7 separate regions of the Homo sapiens genome follow, and regions 2, 3, 4, 5, 6 and 7 are each linked to region 1. The links are contacts of gene promoters, found by promoter capture Hi-C in blood cells and fetal thymus (Javierre and others, 2016). All regions are on one chromosome and are shown on one strand. Each heading gives the region's core, a stretch centred on a gene start or on the middle of the fragment in contact. The rest is flanking DNA. Distances are from core to core; before and after follow the strand shown.

The links. Contacts are between HindIII fragments. The CHiCAGO score rates a contact against its expected background, and 5 or more counts as called.
Region 2: a fragment that was not itself captured here is called in contact with the fragment with the promoter of LDHA in region 1 in 1 of 17 cell types (naive B cells); the score reaches 5.5 in naive B cells.
Region 3: a contact is called between a fragment that was not itself captured here and the fragment with the promoter of LDHA in region 1, in 1 of 17 cell types (non-activated CD4 T cells). The highest score is 5.0, in non-activated CD4 T cells.
Region 4: a fragment that was not itself captured here is called in contact with the fragment with the promoter of LDHA in region 1 in 1 of 17 cell types (naive CD4 T cells); the score reaches 6.3 in naive CD4 T cells.
Region 5: a contact is called between a fragment that was not itself captured here and the fragment with the promoter of LDHA in region 1, in 1 of 17 cell types (activated CD4 T cells). The highest score is 5.6, in activated CD4 T cells.
Region 6: a contact is called between a fragment that was not itself captured here and the fragment with the promoter of LDHA in region 1, in 10 of 17 cell types (non-activated CD4 T cells, activated CD4 T cells, total CD8 T cells and 7 more). The highest score is 10.2, in non-activated CD4 T cells.
Region 7: a fragment that was not itself captured here is called in contact with the fragment with the promoter of LDHA in region 1 in 1 of 17 cell types (naive B cells); the score reaches 6.0 in naive B cells.

What each region holds. Positions count from the first base shown.
Region 1 is chr11:18,392,721-18,396,201 of GRCh38, reverse strand. It overlaps LDHA (lactate dehydrogenase A), which reads right to left and starts at 1,639. Exons shown (of 8, transcript NM_005566.4): 1 at 1,566-1,639. RefSeq lists enhancers at 1-279, 1,544-1,633, 1,014-1,679, 1,944-2,033, 1,680-2,344 and a silencer at 734-783. The HindIII fragment of the contact is 13,104 bases long and covers 1-3,481 here.
Region 2 is chr11:17,987,128-17,990,608 of GRCh38, reverse strand. It overlaps SERGEF (secretion regulating guanine nucleotide exchange factor), which reads left to right. Exons shown (of 11, transcript NM_012139.4): 8 at 1,854-2,012. Among named protein-coding and RNA genes, the nearest start is that of SERGEF, 24 kb to the left of the region's middle. The HindIII fragment of the contact is 673 bases long and covers 1,443-2,115 here.
Region 3 is chr11:18,015,134-18,018,614 of GRCh38, reverse strand. It overlaps TPH1 (tryptophan hydroxylase 1), which reads left to right. Exons shown (of 11, transcript NM_004179.3): 11 at 1-1,060. Among named protein-coding and RNA genes, the nearest start is that of SERGEF, 3.8 kb to the right of the region's middle. The HindIII fragment of the contact is 3,043 bases long and covers 413-3,455 here.
Region 4 is chr11:18,764,060-18,767,540 of GRCh38, reverse strand. It overlaps PTPN5 (protein tyrosine phosphatase non-receptor type 5), which reads left to right. Exons shown (of 15, transcript NM_006906.2): 3 at 1,658-1,734. Among named protein-coding and RNA genes, the nearest start is that of PTPN5, 26 kb to the left of the region's middle. The HindIII fragment of the contact is 5,910 bases long and covers 1-3,481 here.
Region 5 is chr11:18,737,429-18,740,909 of GRCh38, reverse strand. It overlaps PTPN5 (protein tyrosine phosphatase non-receptor type 5), which reads left to right. Exons shown (of 15, transcript NM_006906.2): 8 at 118-307; 9 at 2,946-3,030. It overlaps IGSF22-AS1 (IGSF22 antisense RNA 1), which reads right to left. Exons shown (of 3, transcript NR_186353.1): 3 at 1-486. Among named protein-coding and RNA genes, the nearest start is that of IGSF22, 13 kb to the right of the region's middle. The HindIII fragment of the contact is 8,092 bases long and covers 1-3,481 here.
Region 6 is chr11:18,720,114-18,723,594 of GRCh38, reverse strand. IGSF22 (immunoglobulin superfamily member 22) reads left to right here. Exons shown (of 23, transcript NM_173588.4): 3 at 1,554-1,685; 4 at 1,924-2,060; 5 at 3,310-3,409. The region is part of intron 2 of IGSF22-AS1 (IGSF22 antisense RNA 1); the gene reads right to left. Among named protein-coding and RNA genes, the nearest start is that of IGSF22, 4.3 kb to the left of the region's middle. RefSeq lists an enhancer at 1,775-1,964. The HindIII fragment of the contact is 4,044 bases long and covers 1-3,481 here.
Region 7 is chr11:18,074,373-18,077,853 of GRCh38, reverse strand. No RefSeq gene overlaps it. Among named protein-coding and RNA genes, the nearest start is that of TPH1, 30 kb to the right of the region's middle. The HindIII fragment of the contact is 253 bases long and covers 1,827-2,079 here.

The sequences.
Region 1 (3,481 bases), core at 390-2,889:
GAAGCCGATTAGTCTAGCGGCCTCCGGCCGTTGGGAAGCGGGCATCGGGCCAGAAGGCAGAAGGCTGAGAAGCCCCGCCCGTAAGCAGAGGCAATCTGGAGCTATGCAGCTCAGTGGGTGAGAGGGAGGGAGCTGGGATTCAGACTTCAGACCTAATGAATGCCCCGAAGCAGACGCCAGCAACGTGAAGCCTAGCTGGCAGCCTCCCAGGTCTGGCGCGCAGCCAGCGCCAGACTTTAAATCGCAATACTAGAAACCAGGGCCTGTTAACCAACCGGGAGGGAGGCGCACGGTGTGGCTTCGGCCGTGATCCTTGTTGCAAAGGCCTGTCAGGCCCAGTATGAAGAAATAGTTTCAGTACAGGGAGTGTAGAAATAGCTGCAGAAGGCCTGAGGCCTGCAGCCCTAGAGTTAATAGCTACTTGGTGGAACCCTCGAATTCTTTCCACCTTGTTAATCCAACCCTGCACTGCATTCGCTGGAGGAAATATCACAGGCTGCATCCCCAAAGTATCACGTCTAGTTTTGACACCACTCCAAAGGGCAAAAATCCGAGAGGACCTCTAGGCAGGCAGTCAGCCCAGAGTCACCAAGCTGGAGCCGGGTCTCTCCTTACAAATCACTGCTATTTCTAGACAGCCTTGTAAGGTTTCTAGCCTGGCAGGGGGAAGGGAGTTCCTGCGGACACCTGCTAGCTTCACTGAACGGCCCCGGGATCCAATGCTACCTTTAATGTAGGGGCGGAGGTGGGAGGGCATGGGATGAGGGAAGGGTGCGTCTAGAGGCGAGAGACATGCAAAAACGAGTTCTACACCTCACCTCTGCCTCCTACTCACTGGGAACTTAGAGATCCCTGACTGTCTCCTAGCTTTCGGTCTCCCTATTTGTTAAAAGGAGGAGTTGGTACCGGCGGATCCTACTCAACTGACCGTCTGAGGTGCGGAAGGGCTGGGATGCTGCCTGCTTCATCTTTGCATGCGCCGTGCCTAGCGCAGCCCGAGATACACCAGTAGCTTCTTAATAAATGCGCAAAGGGCTCCCTATAATCTGCAGGCAGCAGCTGCCCTCACGGAGCCCACCTCTCGAGCGTCCCAAGAGAAAAATGCAAGCCGCGTGGTACTCAGCCGCTTTCCGTCTTTCAAGAACCCGCCCCGGACAAGCTGAGGCTTTTTTGGCTCTATGGGCTCCGAGAACTGGACCTCGAGTTTTGCACCGCCCGCCGATTTCGAGCCCAGAGGTATCCCCCACCCTTAAGGCCTATCATATCCTTGTTCCGCATCCACCCGGGCTTTCGACCCCTGCTTGGGTGCGGCCACCTCCTCGGTTCCCCAGCGTGGCCAGAAGCCATGGTTCCCGCTTAGAGCAAAAGCAGAGCGCGGCGAGCTCCGAACACATGCGTTGTGTGGGCCGCCGCCCAGACGTCTCTGGGCTGTGCTTCTGGAAAGCGGCTCCTACACCTCCCGGGAGCAGGAATCCCTTCGCGAGCAGCGGAGGCCAGCAGAACCAGAGGCAGTTGGCTCTACCCGCCCATCCCTCTGGCGCCGTGCGCGCAGGGCCCTACCGTACCGGGAATGCACGTCGGGCGGTCGTCGGGGGCGCGTGGCAATGAGATCCGGAATCGGCGGCAGCGGCTGCAGCACTCTGAGCTGGGCGCGGGAGGGGCCTTAAGTGGAACAGCTATGCTGACGTCAGCGGGGGGGGCCGGCGGACGTGCGGGAACCCACGTGTGAGTCGGGCTGGGGGTGGATGCCGAGCCAGGCGGGGCACTGGAGAGGCCCGGGTGGCGCGCGCAGCCAGACAACCGACCGGCAGACTGCTCCACGTGCGCTGGGAGTCTAAGTAAGGTGCTGCCCTCCAACCACAGAAGCCGGGGTCGGAGCCATGAGCCTGAGTCAGGACGACCTTCAGTTTCCTCATCCATGAAACCTGGGGAGGTTACTCTCAGGAAGGCTTGGATCTGTTTCTTCTTCATCCCTGTTTCTCAGTGTCCAGAACAGCTTCTGGCACGTAATAGGCACTCCACAAATATTTGTTGAACGAAAGGAAGAAAATGCCTAGCAGTCAGTCAGTCTGTTCTTACCTAAGTCGAGTGACCTCCAAAACTCGACGCTGCTTTTCCCTCTGCTGCTAAGCCTACCAGCTCCCACTCACAGTGAAGCCTTGGCCTCTCAGGCCTTGCAGGGTGACTCAGTTCAAATGTACATTTTATTCTGCACTTTCTACTGCCCACCCCACTGGCATCTCATCTCGAGTCTCAACCATACCCAAGAACTGTCAGTGGCTTGTTTTTTTGGTTTTGGTTTTTTGTTTGTTTATTTGTTTTTTGGTATTTTTCGAGACAGGGTCTCACTCTGTCACCCAGGCTGGAGGGCAGTGGCGTGATCATGGCTTCCTGCAGCCTCGACCTTCTGGCTCAAGCGATCCTCCCACCTCGGCTCCCCGAAGTGACTGGGACTACAAGCGCGCCCACTTGCCCTGCGATTTTTTTTTTAATTATTAATTTTTTTTTTTTTGAAACGGAGTCGCTCTGTCGCCCAGGCTGGAGTGCAGTGGGCTGATCTCGGCTCACTGCAACCTCCGCCTCCCGGGTTCAAGCGAATCTCCTGCCTCAGCCTCCTGAGAAGATGGGATTACAGCCAGGCGCCACCACGCCCGGCTAATTTTTGTAATTTTTAGTAGAGACGGGGTTTCACCATGTTGGTCAGGCTGATCTCAAACTCCTGGCCTCAAGTGATCTGGCCGCCTCGGCCTCACAAAGAGCTGGGATTACAGGCGTGAGCCACCGTGCCCAGCTCAATTTTTTGTTTTCTTATCATACTTACCTCTGGGCCTGTATTCTTGCTGATTCCATTGCCTAGCCCGCCCTCCTCCATCTCTTCTTTAATTTGTACCAATACTTCCCCACTGTGGGGTATATTATGAAATATATTTGGTAAGCCCTTGAGTATGCCAAAATTTCCTGAATTTTCTGATAGGAATGTCTTTTGTTATTTATAAAGAGCCTTTTTCCCTGACTTAATGTTAATGAATGAGGAGTCTTAGATAGCCTCAGGAAGGAGCCAGTCATGGGAAAGACCAAATGATTAGGGAATTAGAGGGCTGGAACTTTCAGCCCAAAGGGGTGGATGGCTTTACTTACTCCCTGAACCTACAGCAGCAGCCCAGTGCAGCTTTGAGATAGATCCATAACTGAGTTTCTTGGTTTTGACGGAAAACTCTAACCTCAGCTCCAAAATAGCACAAGGGGCCAGGTGCAGTGACTCATGCCTGTAATCCCAGCACCAATGTGGTTGAGGTGGGAGGACTGCTTGAGGCCAGGAGTTCGAGACTAGCCTGGGCAGCATAGTGAGACCCTGTCTCAAAAAAAAAAAAAAAATAGCAGGGCATGCTTGCATGTTCTAACAGTTTTCCCATCACTCTAGATTCTAAGATCACTCTAGGTTCTGAAATGGGGCTCTCACCTCAAACACACAGCTGGAAAG
Region 2 (3,481 bases), core at 530-3,029, 410 kb after region 1:
TCTGGAAGACAGTTTGACTTTCAAAAAGATGGTTTAGAGCTACTAAGATAAGTGAAGTTGTTTACACAGGCTTCATCGTCAGTGGCATCTTTGTAGCTCAGCAGTCCACTTAATGGATTGATACTTTGCTGAGGGGGCTTCTTTGCTATCTTGTAAGAGATCTTCATACTTTGCACACCCTGATGAAGTCCAGGAGGTTGACCTCTCTCTGGGAATGGAATACACCAAATTCACTTCATAGAACTGCAGAATGTCAATGTTGCAGGGTCACCCCAGTGACAAAAAGGTTTCACTGATTTATACTCCCTCATTTTGGAGTTGAGGAAACAGACCTAGAATGTGAAGTGATGTGCCCAGTGTCAAACAGTGATCGGGTAACAGATGGAACTTGAACTGGAGACTTCTGAACCTTAGTCTGAAGCCCCTTAATGATACTGTTTGACTTTCTGTCAGTTTTTTGGAATATACTAGACTGCCCTAGGGCAAGCAATACTATCAAGTTTTATTGGGAAGCTACAAAATGCAGTGAAAGCAGAAGACCTGGCTTCTAGTCCCTATTTGACTCCTTATTAGCCATGTGATCCTGAAAAGTAATTTAATATCTTCCAGCCTTGATTAATTTATCTTCTAGAACAGTGCTAATAGAAATATAATATGAGCCATAGTTCAAAAAGTAAAAAGAAACAGGTGGGATTAATTTTAATAATATATCTACTTAACCCAGTATATCCAAAATATTATTTCAACATGTAACCCATATCAAATTATAAGGAGCCACACTCTTTTTTGCACTAAGTCTTTGCAGTCCATTGTGTGAGAGAGTAGCATTTCACTTACAATGTATCTCAGTTTGGGCTAGCCACATTTCAAGTGTTTAATAGCCACATGTAGGTGGTGAACTACTGTATTGGGTAGTACAGCTGTAGATCCTTAGATTATAAGGGTTGGAAAAGCTGAGGAGTCACAAATTGACAAGCCATAGGCTAAATTATTGCCCATGGCCTCATTTTGTATGGCTTTCATTTACAAAATATTTTTGAATGTGAATGCCTTTTAGATAGGCACGTACTCTCTGGCTTGCCACAGTCACCTGCCAGTCATTCTTGTTACCAGTGTCATCAGTCATATTGTCTGCCCTTCTAGACCAACAGCCTTCCCTTCCAATTTTCAGCTGGTGAAACTAAGTCTTAGAGAGGAAGTGATTTGTCCAAGGTCAATAGCTAGTTAGCAGATCCAGGAATAGAAGCCAGAGTCACTTGACTCTGAATTTGTTCTCTTTCTGTTAAATCACAATGTCAGTCAGTCACTTTCCTGCTTATATCACAGGATTATTGTGAGGTTAAAACAAACTGAAGTGCTATCCAGATGCGATTCTATAGCATTATATTTTCTGCTGGACAGGGCATGCAGTGAAATAATCTTATGTTTAAAAAATTTAAGCTTAAATAATGTATCTTTTAACCTGTTATTTTGAAAATTTAAAGCATTTTTTTCATACAAAAGGTATAGGCATATATTTTAAAAACGTAGAAAATAGAGAAATGTGTCTCATACACATGGTAGATGTTGCATAAATATTTGTTGAATGAAAAAGTGAAGAGAAAACCACACATTTTTATTTCTTAAGCTACTAAGAACATTTGGCCTTGTTTTTTATGTATAGAATTTTTGAAAATCTTGTAATAAGTTATTATGGTGTACACAAATTTTGTAACCTGCTTGGCTCCACTCAACCTTGTAGTCTAAGTATAAAACAACTTCTTTTAACCACTTATTTTTTAGACTTCTGTTATTTTCCATCATTTTGGACTAATGTTCCCTCACCTCTTTTGTTACCCTTCTGTTTGTTTAAGATGCAGGAGAGGTGTATGTTTGGGGAAGCAACAAGCATGGGCAACTGGCTAATGAGGCTGCTTTCCTTCCTGTGCCCCAGAAAATAGAAGCACATTGTTTCCAGAATGAAAAGGTCACTGCCATCTGGAGTGGATGGACACACCTGGTTGCTCAGACAGGTGAGACAGTAGCAGAGAACTTACGGTTGGTAAGAGCAGCTGGGGGACAGCTGTCTAAGCAGCCATGAGTGCTTGGGGTTAAGCCTTTTTACTGATGAAAGCTTAAAGATCAGAGATGGGGATACTGGGATCTAGTTCTGCCACCAGCCAGATATGTGGCTTTTCCTCTCAGAGTCACAGGTTTGTACCCAAAAGGGCAAGCCTGGGTTAAGTTAACTCCTTCCGGTCCTAAGAGCCCATGAGGTTTTGAGAAGGGATCCATTGCAGCAAGCGTCATCCAGAAATTTGTCCAGCTTGTTGGGAAGTTCTTACTTTGTCATAGCTATTTGCATGTCTAAGTCTAAATTAAAAGCATCAGAAAATGTTAAGTGAAAGATAAATATCTAAAGATTGAGGTAGGAACATTATTTTGATTCATAGCTGGCATGGAATTCTGATTTAAACTTTTGTTGACCTAATAAACTATGTGTATTGGTTCAGACATCTCATATATTCCCTCAGATGTTACCACATCATGCCATACAGCTTTTGGCATCTTCATCTTTTCTTGAATCTTCGTTTATTTCTCATCTTTCCCTTAGGGCAGTTCTACTTTCCTGGCCTTCATATTGTTAACTTTGTCCTCAGATTTTGTTTTTTCATGGCCTCTATTCATCCCTGCCTTCCTGCCTGTTGATTTCACAGAGTTCCCCAGCCAATTTGAAATTCCCAAGATCTGTTATCATGTCAAAGTATTCTGAGCTTCAGGGGTTCTCAGGAGTTCCCTTGCCTACTCCTGTCCTGCTTGCTAGCTACACACACATCTCTAGACTCCCAAATATCTAGTGACTCTTATTTCAGAAGTTTCTGGCTTTTGCAGGTTTTCAGGTCAGCTTCAGCTATCCTTGGTAAGTCACATATACTACGCATTTCTATACACAAATGTAGACTTATGAGCAGTCATACCTATGATGCTTTTAATTGGTCTTTTAAAACATTTCATGATCATTTTGCAATAGAGGCCTGTATAACAAAGGTGTATAATAAACTTTCCATATTACCGCTTTAGAGGATGCTCTAAGCAAAGTGTGTCATTCATTAGGAGGAAGGTCGTCACTTTCCTCAAAGAGATTCAGATTGCTTGAAGATTGGGCTTATCTACAGAACCTTTTCCTAAAGAGACTCACTGAGCATAGTAGCTGGGTTTTGTATGTTTGTAATTGTTGATATCTCTCTTTTGTTTCAGATAATGAGCTCTGTGAAGGAAGCCACCAGATTAGTCTTGCTCACTTCTGTATCTCCAATGCCTATCAAAGAATTTACTCATTTTCCTGCATCAAACTCTTTATAGTTAAAAGAGACTACACATACACAAATGCATACAAGGCAGGGTAGATAGCTAGGATTTCTGACCTCTTTCCTGGGACTTAGATGTTCATGAACAGAAAGCTTCTTTGTCTCTTTGGATTCTGGTGTCCAACCAAATAGGT
Region 3 (3,481 bases), core at 685-3,184, 380 kb after region 1:
GGCTCACTGCAAGCTCCACCTCCCAGGTTCACGGCATTCTCCTGCCTCTGTCTCCTGAGTAGCTGGGACTACAGGCGCCCGCCACCACGTCCGGCTCATTTTTTGTATTTTTAGTAGAGACAAGGTTTCACCGTGTTAGCCAGGATGGTTTCAATCTCCTGACATTGTGATCTGCCCACCTCGGCCTCCCAAAGTGCTGGGATTACAGGCGTGAGCCACTGCACCCGGCCAAACATTGGAAATTTTTAATGATGGATTTCAGTTCTTCTCACCTCTGGGTATTTGTAATATTTGGTAAATCAGGAGTCCTGAGAGTCTTAGAATTTTCATGCATTTTAAATATATGTCTTCAAAGCACCTAGGAATATGTAAATAGTTACCCAAATGTGAGAACAGAATTGAACTAAAAGCTTCGTTTATAATTTTTTTTTTTTTTTGAGACAGAGTCTCACTCTGTTGCCCAGGCTGGAGCGCAGTTGCGTGATTTCAGCTCGCTGCAACCTGGGACTGCAGGCGTGCTTCACCATGCCCCGCTAATTTTTGTTTTTTTAGTAGAGATGGGGTTTCGCCATGTTGGCCAGGCTGGTCTCGAACTTCTGACCGCAGGTGATCCATCCGCCTCGGCCTCCCAAAGTGCTGGGATTACAAGCATGAGCCACCATGCCCAGCCGGTTAATAATTCTTAATCAGTAAATCATTATTCAAAGACATAGTTAATATCTTCATGACTTCTTAAGGATGCTCAAAAGCTGGTCTTCAGAATACCTACATTTCTTTATCTACATATTCTGTCATTTGGAGTTATACAAGTAGTAATGACACACCAAAATGTAAATAATTATTGTTAGCTTTTAAGTTGGCTTCCAAATTCAAAAAAGAAAAAAATCCTGAATTCTCTAAAGGAACATATGATAGAGTCCATATGTTAATTCATAGGAAGTGTTTAAGGTACTATGGTCTATTTTGGTCTAATCTTTGTTTTACTATGTAATATATATTTATGATTTACAAGTTTGTTATTCAGTGGGATAATAAATGAACACAAAATTTATGTTCTCAACCAATGTTTACTTTTTTTCAAACATACGTTAAAAATTTATTTAAAGTTACATTAGCAATTTTATTAGTTTAGGAAATCCATTGTATCTTTATACTTCTTAAAAAGCCTATGGATATGAGATAGAAGCCAAACATATCTGGAACCTGGTAACCACTTTTCAGAGTTCTTCGTAAAGTCTGTGTTATGTTCCTGTCAACGAAAAGAGTCAAACACAGTAAAGTATTTGAAGAGCCAAATATGAGTGACCATGGCCCATGACACAGCCCTTAGGAGACCCTGAGAACATGTGCCCAAGGTAGTCAGGGTACAGCTTGGTTTTATACATTTTAGGGAGACATGAGACTTCAGTCAAATACATTTATAAGATACACTGGCTCAGTCCAGAAAGCTGGGATAATTCAAAGTGTTGGGTGGGAGGTTTCCAGATTATAGGTAGTTTTAAAATTTTTCTAATTGGCAATTCATAGAAAGGAATGTCTGGGTTGCTGTATGAGTTTGTGGAGACCAGAGTTTTATCATGCAGATGAAGCCTCCAGATGGCAGGCTTCCAAGAGAACAGACTGTCAATTTTTCTTATCAGACTTAAGGTCTGTGTTGATGTTAATGCTGGAGAGGTATAAGGAGGCATGTGCGTGACCCCACTTCCAGTCATGGCCTGAATCAGTGTTTCGGGTTACATTTTAGAGTGCCCTGGCCTAGAAGAAAGTCCATTCAGATGGTTGGGGGGGGCCTTAGAATTTTATTTTTGGTTTACACTCCTCATCTGTAAAATGAACTAAGTCTACTACACTAGATTATTGGAGAAGTTATGCTGCAAGAGGACTTTGTAAAAAAAAAAAACTCATTTTCCACATGTAAAGAATTACTAATACAATCACTCTCTTAACAGATATTCCCCCTTAGCTTCTAGATGATTTTATCTTCCACAAGAGGGTATTAATTTTTGCTTCTAGTAGGCAGTATATAATGGCATGGTAAAGTCTGAGTCCAATTAGGGATTGAGCCAAAGAGAAGTTGAGCTTCAGTCTTTGTGAGGGCTGGTCTATTTCCAGTTCACCTTGACTTTTAGGGTGTAGCCCTTTAGGGATCTCAAGAGAAAACTATGAGTGTGTACCAGGGCTTCTCCTTGGGGGCTCTGGACTACTACTTTTGTCCCCTCCTTCATGTCCACCATTCCCTCCTCCCATCCCTACCCTATGAGATTGCTAAAGGTACTGCTCAGCTTCTTAGTTGTTGATTTCAGCCCAGTTTCTTAGCCTCCAAGACATTGCTTAGTAATTAGCAAGTGCTTCAAGCAGAAAAGTAGTGCCAAATATAATCTCTCAGCTTCCAGATCTTGGCCCTTCAAGTTCTTCCTGCTTTGATAGCTCTCCAATAACTTGAAATATATTTTAAAAATATTTTGTCAAATTTTCTAGTTGTTTTTTTATGAGAGAATAGGTATGCAGCTAGCTAATCTTCCTTTATCAAAAGTAGAAAACTGACCTTGAAGTAAATAACTACTTTGAGCCTCAGTTTTCTCATCTATAAAACAATGATCCTGGCCAGGCAAGGTGGCTCACACCTGTAGCCCTAGCTACTTGGGAGGCTGAGGCAGGAGGATCACTTGAGCCCAGGAGGTAGAGGCTGCAGTGAGCCATTATCATGCCACCTGCACTCCAGCCTGGGCAACAGAGGGAGACCCTGCCTCAAAAAAACAAAATAAGATAAAATAATAATCCTAACAGCACTTATCATACTAGTATTATTGGGATGATCACAAAAAATAATCCAACGGGAAAAAATTTCCTAACCTTCATGGTACAGAGATGCAATCTGTATGTTCTCAAATACTTTATACTTTCCTCTTTTGGGGAGATAAGCCATCTGAAAGTGAAGCCATTAGATGGTTTAAATCTAGTCCCATTCAAGAACTGCAATTCAGCCAGGCTGCTCATGGGAAGAACTAGGCAGTGGCGAGTACATAGTTGAAATAGTTGCAACATCTCAACACTTCCAATAAATTGTATTAAGGGATATGACATGATAATATAACTGTAGGTTAGTTAAAATATTGATGCTTGTACATTCAAGGGGTGGAGTCAGAAAACAACTATATTCTCCCAGACCTTCTCTCTATTAAAACTGGCTCTGTAGGTAGTTCTTCCTTGCCCTTCTGGATGAAATCTCAGGTTGCTGCCTGACTTTCTGCTTGCTCACAGGTAATAAAAAGTCCTTAGCTCCTAATTTCCATTTCTCTCTCTCTCTCTCTCTCTCTCTCTCTCTCTCTCTCTCTCTCTCACACACACACACACACACACACACTCTCTCTCTCTCTCTCTCTTTCTCATTTCAATATTTAAAAAGGCTAGTCCTGTGGAAAAACTTTGATAAAACAAACTTTAAGGTTGAAGCTTTTTTCCTCCTCCAGAACTGAGAAAG
Region 4 (3,481 bases), core at 617-3,116, 370 kb before region 1:
GATGCCAGCAACCAGTTAAAATATTGCCACAGCAATCTAGGCAAGAGATGATGGTGGCTGGGACCAAGATGGGGAGGGAGAAATGTGGAGGGACTCCAGAGACATTTAAAGAATGCACTTAAAGTTACCTTGAAGGAAGTGACCTCCTCTCTGCAGGAGTGCTGGGCTCTAGGACTTGTGATTCTCAGAGACCCTGGCAATTGGGTTGAGGAAAAAAATAAAATGATATAATGCCAGTTGAAAAAGAAGATATCAGAGGGAGAAGGGCCACCCTGAACCTGACCTCTCTGCCCTTAATTATTTAAAATCTGGAATTGGGCCTGAAACTGGCCCTAGGGCCAGTCCAAGAAGCAGGATAGCAGGACTTGGGGGCAGAGAAGCAGCTGAGCCTCTGGAATTCCTGAAAGTATGCTAGCAAGGCTATGTCAAAGGTTCTTTTGGTTGCCAGTTTCAGAAATCACATCCCACTGGCGTAAGCTAAAATGTGGGGATTTATTGGAAGGATCCACGGCCATCTTATGGTCTTGAAGGGCATATTGTCCAAGACTCAGTACAGATGGGAACAAGGCAGCTCTCAGGCCCTCAGCAGCAGGTCTTCTCTCCAGGGCACTGTGGCTACCATGATTCAGCACCAGCAAAATGCATCAGAATGCATTTTCAGTGTGCAAGGGAGAGGATCTGATTGACCCAGGCTGGTTTGTGTGTTCAGCCTTGGATCAGTCATCAGCTACTGCCAAGGGTCAGAGACATGAAAGGCAGACAAGGCCACTGGAGCCCACGCTGCATTTCAGGCCATTCCCAGGGTAGGGGACCCCCTGTGAGTCAAGTGGTTGCCCTCAAGATATGTCTACTCTCAAGATGCTTCATGGGGTCTAGCTGATCTCCAGCAACATTTTTCCAGCTTGCCAGGTAAAGGAGAAAAACTAGACCCCCATACTCTCCTATAAGGTGCCCTAATAGGCTAGAAAGAGGGTTCTCTGATTTCAGGAAGGAAACATTTAGACTATACAAAACATGTATGTAACTACTTTTTCTAGCTATTCTGGAGAAGAGTTCTGCATACCACTTTTCACTGCCTGGGGCAGAGGGGACTTGCATATCTTGGAGAGCTGGACACAGGATTGTGGGTTACTCAGAGCCCTCTTCTTGTCCACCCATGGTTCAAAACTACTGGAACTAGGAGACAGAATGGCACAACAGCGAGAGCATGAGCCTGGAGTCCTAGGTCATAATTTCAAACTCATCTCTATTCTATTGAGCTGTGTGACCTTGGGCAAGTTACTTAACCTCTCTGAGCCTGTTTAATGATCCCTCATTCATGAGGTCATGGTGAGGATTTAATGTGATAAAGTTTGCAAAGTGCTTGCGTATAGTAAATCCTCCTACTGTAGAGGTGATGATGATGGTGATGATGATGATGATGGTTGTGATGATACTGCTGCCACTGATTCCACAAGGAAGACACCTGCAAAATTCTGCTCCTGCCTCTGCAGCTTGACCCCTCAACAGGCTGGTATTTTCCTCAGGTCCCTTTGATGGGGTGGGGTTATTCAAAGGGATACAGAATACAGGAGAGGGAGCCTTCTTATCTTTGCTCAGGGTTTTTGTCTTGATCCTGGCTCAACAGCATATTCTTACCTTTTCCATCCTGCTGCAGGAGTGAGAGAGAGAACCACGCTGCTGATGACTCCGAGGGAGGGGCCCTGGACATGTGCTGCAGTGAGAGGCTACCGGGTGAGTCTTCTCAGCACCCAGCTCCTCCCAGACCTCAGAATGGAGAGACAATGCCCCGGCTGAAGCTGGGGCTGGAGTAAAGCCTAGCTAGCTGTGAACTTGCGCAAGAATATCCATGCAGCTGCTCCATAGCTCTTCGTTTAAATGGGGACTTGTTTTTCTAATCCCTGATGCCTTCTGACCTGTTATCACTTGGAGCTGCTCTAGGCTCACATGGAGGGAAGAGCAGGCAATTGAAGGTGTGCTAGGAAGTGAAAAGAAGGACGAAGAGCTGAGGAGTACAGGGCTCCTAGGGAATGACCACTGACCATTCAGGGCTGGGCTGACTTCAAGAGGTAAGGGTAGGAAGCAAAACCTGAAGGCAGCATGAGCCAAGGATGGGGTGGGGGATGTGGAGAACTACCTGACCTCCCTGTTGAGAAGCCCGGCTTGAGGGTGAAACTGTGCTGCTTGAGTCCAGTTGACCACAGTTGCAGGGAGCCAAGCCATTGCAGCCACCGTGGAGATATTACCAAGGCACTCTTGCCCACAGGGTGGCAGCTCGTCCCAGTTGTAGCCCCATGACCCACGCCATGATAAACAGCCTCAGAAGGAAGAAAAAGAAGGGGTGGGGGGAGAGTTTTACATTTTTTTATAAGTTTTTATTGTTCTTTTCCTTCTTATAACAAAAGGTTAACTGTCAAAATATTAGAAAATAAATACAAATAAAAAAAGAAAAATCGCCATAATCCTGTAACATAGCATATATTTTCATATCTCTCCTTCTGAACATTTTGTTAGAAGACAAGTCTTTTGGGCCAGGTGCGGTGGCTCATGCCTGTAATCCCAGCACTTTGGGAGGCCAAGGCGGGCAGATCACGAGGTCAGGAGATCGAGACCATCCTGGCTAACATGGTGAAACTCCGTCTCTACTAAAAATACAAAAAATTAGCCAGGCGTGGTGGCGGGCGCCTGTAGTCCCAGCTACTTGGGAGGCTGAGGCAGGAGGATGGCGTGAACCCAGAGGGCAGAGCTTGCAGTGAGCCGAGATCGCGCCACTGCACTCCAGCCTGGGCGACAGAGTAAGACTCCGTCTCCAAAAAAACAAAACAAAACAAAACAAAACAAAGACAAGTCTTTTGAACTCTAACGTTGAAATTCCAAACCTGTAGCTTTTCAGAGACCTCATGATTGGCAAGGAACCTTAGAATGGAGTCTTCACGTGATACTCTTTAAGATAGACATTGGAAACAACCAGGTATGAGTCTAAAGCGATGACTCTTCAAAATAAGTGGTATTTTATTCACACCACACTCAGTGCCCCAGCTCCTGAGGAAGCCCTTTGATGCAGTTCATACCTTAACCAGTAGGGGGTGCCATTGCTCAAAACACTTGGGACAGCCTGTTGAGACGGTCTAAGATGGGACCGTCTGTCTAGAAGAGAATTCTCTGAAAAGATGTGAGAACTTCCTGAATATCTGAATGGCTGTCTTGCGGAAGGGGCAGCAGATCTATTCTGTGTATCTTAGGATGACGTAAGCCCAAGGCATTGAAATTAAAAACAGGCCTTTGGCCCATAGACGCAGAACTCTCTGACTCTAAAAGTGGTCCAGTCATAGAACTCAATAATTCCAGAGGAAGAAATGCGTGTTCCGTCACAGGAGGCATTCAAGTACTAGATAGATAGACAATGGAGAGGAAATTTCCACAATGGATGGGAGGTCCAGATGACATCAGAAGTCCCCTTCAACTATTAAACAGTTCTGTG
Region 5 (3,481 bases), core at 396-2,895, 340 kb before region 1:
AACCCCACCCTGTTCCCAGCTGATCTCTCCCTCCCTCATTTTCCCAGCCCTGGAGACCCCAGCTCATGCCCGTCCCTCTGCCCCTGAGGCTCACACTCCCTTTCCTGGTCCTTCCAGGAGGGGTTCCAATGTCTCCCTGACCCTGGACATGTGCACTCCGGGCTGCAACGAGGAGGGCTTTGGCTATCTCATGTCCCCACGTGAGGAGTCCGCCCGCGAGTACCTGCTCAGCGCCTCCCGTGTCCTCCAAGCAGAAGAGCTTCATGAAAAGGCCCTGGACCCTTTCCTGCTGCAGGCGGAATTCTTTGTGAGTTCCCTTGAGCCGGTCGCCCCACTGTGTGCAGACCCATGTCAATCATCCACCTGCCCAGGTGGTGGAGCGTGGTGCCTGGAACTCAGCATCTGCAGTAGATTAGTATCACTTTATTATCAGCTCTCCCACCATCTTGGGCAAGCTGCTTTCCCTCTGAGCTTCAGTTTCCTCATCTGGAAAATGGGGATGAAAATAATAGAATTGTTGCAAAGATTAAAGAGACTTATAACATGTGCAGAGCACCCAGCCAGGTGATGGAGGTACAGTGACAATGCTAAGTCTTTATTGCCCAGTGCTGTGCTCTGAAAGCCACAGAGAACCTTCACTTCTAACTCTTCTGTTTTCCCACTTTCCTCCTGCCGAGCATTGTTCTTCTGCCTTTGAAATCTCTCTAGTGGCCTCCCCTCGTTACCACCCCTGGGGCCCTAGCTTAGGTCCTAATCACCTCCACCCTGGCTTCTGCAGCAGCCTCCAGCTGCCTCCTATTGGACTTTGAGGGGCTCAATAAATGGCACCCCTGTTTACCTGCCTGAGTGCTCAGCCAGTTAAGAGCTAAGGCATAGGAGATTACAATATCACCTTTGTTGTCAATAAAATACAGGTTGGAAATGTGGCTTAGCAGGGTACAGCAAGAGTGAGCCTCCCGATACTGAGACCCAGAATTACATGCACTTTCCACCCTCCACAGGGGTGCCGGCACATCTCGGACCTTGCCGCATGGGGGCACCCCTATAATTCTTTCCTGGCAGGAGGGCCCTGAGAGGAGGAGGAAGGAAGGGGCTGAGGCTCCAAAGCTCCATTCCTCAACCAAATTCACCAAACAGGTAACTCCTCACTTCTGTGAGCAGGAAAAGGCAAGAGGCCAAGAGTATCTGGGGTGAGTTCCTCCTGGTAGAAGCCACAGGGGTACAGAAGCAGGTGCCTCCTCCCTCATAGCTCCCTTCCTTTGGCCTCCGCCCTGGGCCTGTCTGGACCGGGTAGCTCTCCCCTGTGAGAAGACCTCCATCATCATCTGATCTGCTGCTCCAAGTTCTCCAGAACTTGGTACCACCTGCATACACCATCAGCACCCCTTACCTCGTGTGGCCCCAGCCTCCTTTTCCAGCCTTATGCCCCATGCCCCACCCCTGCAGGGACTGTCCACTTCAAACTGGGCCAGTCTCGTCCGTGCCTTTCTCCTCCTGTGCCTTTGCTCACATCATCACTCACTCCAGATGCCTCTAGAAAGCCTTCTTTAACCACCCCAGCCTCAGCTCCTTCTCTGAGCTCCCACTGCCATCATCTCCCCTTCGAGAAAGAATCACATCCTCTACCTCATTTCCTGTCCGGTGGGTCTTTGTTGAGGAAGGAGCGTGGCCTGAGCACCCACTCTGGGGGCAGTTTTGCACGTGTTGTATTTTTATTTTGATTTTCACAATCCTGGAAAGTGTGATGATCCTCATTTTACAAAGCCCATACTTAGTGTGTCCAAAAACAATGAACAGTGTGAAGTTAGGTGCAGTCAGGGGCTAAGCTGGTGGACAGACTGGAAGGAAATGCAGAGGCAAGAGGCATGGAGAGTCATCCCGGAAGATGTCAGGAGGAGACAGACTCATAGGTGAACTTTTTTTTTTTTTTTTTTTTTGAGACAGGGTTTCACTCTTGTTGCCCAGGCTGGAGTGCAGTGGTGCGATCTTGTCTCACTGCAACCTCCGCCTTCCAGTTCCAAGCGATTCTCCTGCCTCAGCCTCCCTAGTGGCTGGGATTACAGGGGCCCGCCACCAGGTCCAGCTAATTTTTGTATTCTTATTAGAGATGGGGTTTCAACATGTTGGCCAGGGTGGTCTCAAACTCCTGACTTTGTGATCCGCCTGCCTCGGCCTCCCAAAGTGCTGAGATTACAGGCGTGAGCCACCGCGCCCGGGCAGAGGTGAACTTTAAAGGGTGGGAACAACTTGGAGAGATGGGGGTAGGGGAGACCAGCGCCCTCAGGAGGCAGAACGTCACAAGCTCAGACTCAGAGGCAGGACTGAGAACAGCAGATTAACAACAGGGGAGAAACAGGCCTAACTGGAAGTAAAGAGAGGCCAGATTCAAGAAGCCCTCACATGCCAGGAGAGAAGTTCAGACTCAGAGCTCTGGACACAGACAGTGGTTGGGAGGTGCAGATATTCCTGGGATCTCAGAAAGAGGCTTCTCTCCTTCTGGAGAATCAGGGAAGGCTTCTCAGAGGAGGCGGGACATGAGATGAGGATGGGGTGTGTGTTACCACAGAGCAAGCAGCACGAACCTAGGTCCCGAGATAGGGATGCCCAGGGAGGAATGCTGCCCAGGGAGCATGGAAGAAGGCAGCCATTGGCCAGGTCACTTTTTGTCTTTTTCTTCATTCATCAGCTATTTATTGACTGTCTATATATGGCAGGCTGGCTCTCCATAAACAATAGTCATTATCATATTTATTACACACTCAGCATGTGCCAGGCACTGTTCTGAATGCGTCGTGAGCACTAACTCTCTTAATAGTAAATGTTTGTTGAATGAATGCGTGCACTCAAGCCAGCCCCTGGGCTAGGAGTTGGGGGCACAGCAGCCCCTGGATTCAAACATCTGTGAGGGCCCATAGCTGCTCACACCCCGTGTCCTCCTTCCACAGGAAATCCCCATGAACTTTGTGGATCCGAAAGAGTACGACATCCCTGGGCTGGTGCGGAAGAACCGGTACAAAACCATACTTCCCAGTGAGTACTCACTGTCCCAGAGGGATGGGGGCAGGCTCAGCTTCACCTGGGGATCCCCTCACCCTGAGGAGGACCCTCAGCTGGGCCTCTAGGGGTGACAGGACTGGAGGAGGTGGGACAGAGGGCTGGGGGTTGCTGGCTGAAGGGAAGCGCTGCCCTGGTGAGGCCAGAGGCGAGTACATTTCCTCGCACAGCACTCTCTGGTCCTTTGCCCTGCCTGGCCACATGTTGTGCTGGACCCTCTAGAAACCCAAAGAGAAAGGGTGGTAATGACAGCAGTTCCTAGCCACACTGTGGTAACCGAAACTCTTTTCAGAGTGGGCAGATTTTAAGGAAAGGAAGTTAAGGCTTAGAGAGGTTAAGTGGCTCACCTGCAGTCCCACAGCTAGGAAGTGCAGAGCTGAATTTCAGACCTGGGCCTCTGTGATCCCAGAGTCAGGCTCTCTGTCTA
Region 6 (3,481 bases), core at 407-2,906, 330 kb before region 1:
AGAGCTGAACAGAGTGTTTTAGTCACGTCTCTAGTGGAAAGAGATTAAAAGATGGCCGGGGGCCAAGACATTGGATACCCCTTCTCACAGTCATTGCCCCTCCCTCAAAGCCTCAAAGGGATAGAGTCCCTCAAAGTCCTCCGTGCACAGAGGTCAAGGCCAGATAAACACTCTATACCAACCAACACCTCCTGGCCAGTGAGGCAGAGCAAGTGGAACAGCTGGGACTCAAGGCCTATGGTCTAGACCAGAAGTTCCAAACTCAAGTGATTTACAGCAGTGATTCTCTGCTGTGGCCGCACATCAGAGTCACCTTAGTGCAGGGGGTGTGAGGAGGGCAAAAATATGGCAGTACCTGAGTCTCACCCCAGACCATTCAATCAGGTATTTCTTATAAAGTTCTCCATGGATTATATATGTGCAGCCAAAGCTGTAGACCACTGACCAACAGGGCCCAGGCAGGGAACATAAATGTGGGGAAAAGACTGGGGTAAACTAGAGACTGTATATCCCATCTAAAGGGGCAGCCACTATTCACCTCCCACTGACTGTTGCCATATGGGAATACAGGTTCAGTGTTGAGAATCCAGAAATCTGAATTTTTATGTGAAATCTTTCTCTTTCAGATGTAGGGCTACTTTTTTGTTTAAACATTGTGGAGGTCACATAAAAGACATCTGCAGGCCAGGTGTCCACTGCACTCTGCCTGTTTGAGACCTCTTGTTAGTATTTAAAAGCAGGCCATGAGAGCTTCTTAACACACTTTTCCCCCTCTGTCAGATTAGTGGGATAATAAAGGCACCTACTTCAGTGGGATGCTGTGAAGATGGAATAAAATCATCTCTGATATGTGCCTAGCACAGTTCCTGACTCAAGGAAAGTGTTCCATGATTCAGAGCAATTGTTGTGAATTGATAACTCACCAGCCAAGAAGATTGTCTGTAGTTTTATACTGCAAAAACAGTTTTTTTTGTTTTCCAAATATAAAATTATATTTCCACATTGAAGATGTGCTTTCAGATAAGGATATTCCCATATATAGCTCCACTGGAGTGGGACTGTGTCGTGTCCTGTCCCTCACTCAAGAATCACTACTCCCAAGGCAATGAATGCTGAACCCACAGAATGGCAGGGAGAAAATCTAGAGCAGAGCTCAGCCAAGCTGCAGACCTCCCAGGCAGAAGCAGGCCTAGCCCCTCTTAATGCTACTGGGGGACCAGGACTTCCAGGAGAGAAGCCTAAGAGACCAAGAAAATTCCAAAAGAGAAGCCTCCTTTAAAAAAAAAAATTAGGACTCAGGGCTGTGGCCCCATAAAGGTAATGGACCACTGAGGTGTGGGAAAGGAGTTCGCCTCCCCTAGTGGTTGAAACTTGCCATAACACAATGGCCCATCGACTCACCCTGCTTTCTCCCCATGTAGCTGGTCCTGCTCCCACTTCCCTAAATGCTCTTTGTTCCCATGCTCCACCGTCCTCTCAAGAAAGCTCTGTCCTCCCATCGCGAGCTGGGCTTCTACCTGGAGCCCATTCTGACCTCTCGCCTGCCCCCACAGAGGAGGTCGTGAGGAGGAAGTCCTCGAGCATAGTGGAGTTCTTCAGCTTAGTGACCCGGAGCTCAAACATCCCTGCGGGCGACAGCGTCCCTGAGTTCGTGGAGAAGCCTCAACCGGTCACCGCGCCCGAGGGTGTGTTGCTGCCTGTGGCTCACCGGGCTCCAGTGCTTCGCTTTCTAATCGAGTGCCCCCACCCTCCGTCCTACCCCAACGACCTCCAATGCTAAACCCTGGCAGAGCCTGGCCGAGGGTTCCTCCCCTGCCCGGGGCCAGGCCCAGGTGTCTGGGAGGAGGCAGAGAGCCGGCAGAGGGTGGCAGAGGCTCTAGCCTGGTGGCTAAGAGGCGAAAACGCGTCCTGTGCTCATCGCAGGGGACAAAGCCGTGTTCCGAGCCCGGGTGCAGGGGAACGCCAAACCCCACATCTCCTGGAAGAGGGAGAGCGGCATCCCCATCAAGGAGTCCGCCAAGATATTCTACGACAGCATTAACAAGGAACACGTGCTGAAGGTGCGGGGGCCAAGCCCAAGTCCAGTTACCGAGAAGGCCAGAGGCAGGGACCCCCAGGGCGGGCCGCCAGTCTTCTCACCGATGAGAGCCTTAACGGCGGCCCGAGAGCCGGGCAGTGGGAAAAGCAGCTGTCATTGCCCGAGAGGCGCGGCAGGATAAGAGAGGCCGAGTCAGGAACCGGGATATTGCCGGAATGAGCAGAGGACCCAAAGTACCCCCGGGGCAGAGCAGAGCAGGGGCAGAGCCAGAACGTGGCGGGGCGGGACGCAATGGAAGCGAAGGGGCGTGTCCACAAGGCGAGTGAGCCAAAAGGAACGCGGGACCAAGACGGTGGGCGTAGCCATGGAGGGCGGGACCATTGTGGGTGGCGAGGTGCCGGAGGGACTCGCCGTAGAGTAGGGGTGAGGGTCAGGGGCTCCGGGCTCTTCAGCTGAACCCTCCCCAAGGACCGACCATCCTTAGGTCTAACCAGCTTCTGGATCACTTTCTGAGAGCTGGGCCTACCCAGCTGTAACCCCTGGCTCCAGGCCCTTCGAGGAAAGGGAGGGATGGATCACGGGGAGATCTAGGCCTATAATTACTTATGATCCTATAATCACTCGGGTCCTGACCCGATTTCCCGTTGTGAAAGGCAAAGAGCCTCCTTTTTTCCCCACAGACAGAAGTAGTCTGCTCCCAAAGACCCATCATCACTGGACCCTAAGCCCCCCACAGCACACACGAGCTGCCCCAGTCCCCCTGATGGCCACCTCTTACACAAGCTCATTCATTCAGCAGACACTTTCTGAGAGCCTTGGCTTCTGAGAGCCTAGCAGGCTTCTGCAAGCACCATGCAGACGGGCATCAAGTCAGCCTTACTCACCACTGTTCCTTCTGGGGCTCAGCCCAGTGTCTGGTACAGAGGAGTAAATTGTATTAAATGAAGTCTCAGCCAGATGATGCCAGAAACTGCAGATAGAGTTACAAGGCAGGGGAAGCCCTGCCTTCTGGGAGCTCACAGCCAAGGGGGAGAGTCCGATGGAGAAGCAGACAGTTTTATTGCTATGGAATCAGGCTACAAACATGCATACTCACACTGACTGCTAGCTGGTACCTCCAAATCATACAGGCTGCTCAATCCTCCACACATATACCCAACAGTCAGTTCCTATTGTCCCCTAAAAAAAAAAAAGGCCTCCTACCTTATCTGACAGAAAGTCTCCCTGTGGTTCCTTTTCCTTCCCCCACTAATGGCCGGACTTTGATCCAGCTGGAGCCACTGACTTCGGATGACTCTGACAACTATAAGTGCATTGCAAGCAATGACCATGCAGATGCCATCTATACCGTATCTCTGCTGGTAACAGAAGGTGAGTTGGCCCCTTCCTCTTGGCCTTTCTTCTTAGGGACCAGACTCCCCCTGTCTGAACCTGTCCCTCTGT
Region 7 (3,481 bases), core at 704-3,203, 320 kb after region 1:
TATGTTTAGTATTTTCTGTTGCCTTGCTTTGAATTAGTTACTGAATAATTTTGGTATGTAAGTGGGAAAAAGTTTAAGAGCCACCTCTCAGCCTGATATACTTTTTTTTTTGGTGAAGCACATGTAGAAACCGACTATAAGCATTAAAAAACAACCTCTATTAGGGGTTCAGAAAATCTTAAGTGTATGAAATATTGAACACCATTATCTGTTCTTCAGGACTGGGCAATGATGCTGTGTCTGAGCTAGCTGTGAAGCTGATAATCTGTAACTCTAGTATTCTATTTCTTCAACTAATATTCTTTTTTAATTAATATTCTTTATGACCTAATCAATAGCCTTTTTAAAAAAGAAGAAATAGGTCCATATTAATTTAGGACTGAATTATTTATTCTACTTGAGCATGTGTTCTCTTTTACCACTTTGGAACTTCAGTTTCCTCCATGCTCCTGTCAGAAGTTTTAAGAAAGGGAAAATAGGCAAATGCCCCTCTTAACCATACCATATTTTTCTTTCCTATTTTTTTTTTTTTTTTTTTGGAGATACGGATCTCACTATATTCTTGCTAAGACTGGTTTCAAACTCCTGAGCTGAAGCAATCCTCCTGCCTCAGCATCCTGAATAGAATATGTTTTCTTTTTGTTGCTGGTTTGAGATCCAAGAACCATTATTAAAAGTTATATATTTATAGTGAAATAGTATGATGTCTTGGATTTGCTTCAAATTAGTCTGGGGCAGAGGGAAAGAAGTAAGTTAATGGAGTAGATGAAACAAGACTGGCTGCGAATTGGAGTTGCTGAAGCTGGGTGACAATTACATGGGGTTCCATTATACTTTTTTTTTTTTTTTTTTCAGAGACAAGGTCTTGCTCTGTTGCCCAGGCCAGAGTGTAGTGGCACACTCATAGGTTACTGCAGCCTCAAACTCCTGGGCTAAAGCCATCCTTCTATCTCAGTCTCCCAAATAGCTGGGACTATGGGTGCATGCCACCATGCCCAGCTAATTTTTATTTATTTATTCATTTTTATTTTATTTTGAGACAGAGTCTCACTCTGTTGCCCAGGCTGGATTGCAGTGGTGTGATCCTGGCTCACTGCAACCTCCGCCTCCCAGGTTCAAGCGATTCTCCTGCTTCAGCCTCCTGAGTAGCTGGGATTACAGGCACGCACCACCACACCTGGCTAATTTTGTGGGTTTTCTTTCTTTCTTTCTTTCTTTCTTTTTTTTTTTTTTTTTTGAGACGGAGTCTTGCTCTGTCACCTAGGCTGGAGTGCAGTGGCGCAATCGCGGCTCACTGCAACCTTCACCTCCCGGGTTCAAGCGATTCTCCTGCCTCAGCTTCCTGAGTAGCTGGGATTACAAGCGCATGCCACCATGCCCGGCTGATTTCTGTATTTTTAGTAGAAACGTGGTTTCACCATGTTGGTCAAACTTGTCTCAAACTCCTGACCTTGTGATCCGCCCACCTCTGCCTCCCAAAGTGCTAGGATTACAGGCGTGAGCCACCATGCCTAGCCTAGCTAATTTTTATATTTTTAGTAGACAGGGTTTTACCATATTGGCCAGGCTGGTCTGAAACTCCTGACCTCAGGTGATCCGCCTGTCTTGGCCTCTCAGTGGGCTGGGATTACAGGCGTGAGCCACCACACCTGGCCTATTTATTGATTTTGTAGAGATGGGTTCTCACTGTTTCCCAGGCTTGTCTTGAACTCCTGGCTGCAAACAATCCTGCCTCAGCCTCCCAAAGTGCTGGGCTTGCAGGTCACCACACCTGGCCTTCCTGTTAAAGGTTTATAAAAGCAAATAAATGATACACAACTTAAGCTTTAATTTGATTATGAATGATGCTTATTCCTTTTATGTCATTGGGCTAGTCAAACTTACAAGAGCCTGGGCCAATGTAGTCTTGAGTCTTGTGGGCCAGTCCAGCAACCAAAAAAAAAACCACAGGTGAGACTGGAAGCAGGAGGGAACCTTGTGGTGGTGCTGCTAGCCCTCCACTCACCTCTCATACTATTTGTTCATCAACCTGACTGCTTTGTATTTCTATATAGAATGCAAAATCTGCATCGCTAAGCTTTTATGATGTATCTTAGATAATTTGCATGAGGTCACATTTGCTTAAATCCAATTTTATACAACCCAAGGAACATCTGTAATATAAAAGCCAGAAAACCTCCATAAGTTCACATTTCACAGCCAAGGATTTCGTAATATCAGGCTACTCCTTCTATCATTATGATTGTGCCCATGTGATTGCCCTTTCTGAACAACTGTGTTTTCCCTGGACGTTTGCAAGATTCTATAGTGTAGTAACATCATGGAGTAGGGCATTCTCATTTTATCCTAATTGTTCATGCCTCAGGGCTCTGGCAAGGATCACAATTCTGGGAGAGGGTCATGCCACACTGAAATTAGACCTGGAGGGGAGAGGATCTGTACCCAAGGAGGTGGCATCAGGGTCTGCTCTGAGTCCCTGTGTCACCTGGCTTCCTTATTTCCGTTTCTTCTTTCTTAGGACTTCAGCTTGTCTGTGGTCTCTCAAGACCACACCAGCCTGTCTTTTTTGGGGGGTTGTGTTCTGCCAGCTTAATCACTTTATTCTCTTGGTATTTCTTTAAATTTGTGAGAGAGAAATTCTTGCGCAGTTACTAGTCTTTTTGTATCAAGCAGTGTGAGTCACCTGTGATTTGGCTACTTTGGGCTAAGTGTGTGACCCAACACAATCAACTAAAGTTGAAATTAAAATGAGTGTGATACGAAATTTACCTCAGGACACAGAAGGATGTGGTAGACACCAGACTTAATTTCCTGTTAGAGATGACCGCCATTTATTGAGGATTTACTATGTGTCAGATGCTCTGTAAAGGTCTTTAGGTATATTATTTAATTTTGCAATAATCCCATAAGGTAATTGTCACCATTTTATAGATGGAGAAATGAAGATTCAGAGTGGTAAAATAACTTGCTGAAAGTTATTTAGGTAGTAAGTAGCTGACCCAGGGCTTGGATCTGGACCTGCCTAGCCTAATGAATATTCTTTTAGCCACTATACTGTACTTGCATACTGTGGGGAGGCATGGACTGGAGCATGAAGGTCTTGATAGATCACATGGAAGAGACAGCTAGGCTATCTGCACATCCACGTTCCTTTCTCCAAAATTGCCGCTGGACTGCCCACATTCTTCCCCCGGTTACAGCGTATGGTTTAATAAGGGAATTACTCCTAACCCAAGCTGGACAACTCAGGTTGGCTCAAGGACACAGGACTCTAGACCACGTAACTTACAAGGCTGAGGGCACTATTTGGGAGGAGGCAGCCAGTCATATTTATCATCCACTATGTACCAGGTATTCTAAGGACTAGGAAGACAGCAGTAAACAAAACAGACAAAATCTGTGTAATAGAAATACTGTGGACAAAGCAGAAAAAATCTTGACCTAGTGGGCCTGGAATTCCAGAGTCATGTGTAAGAAGAAC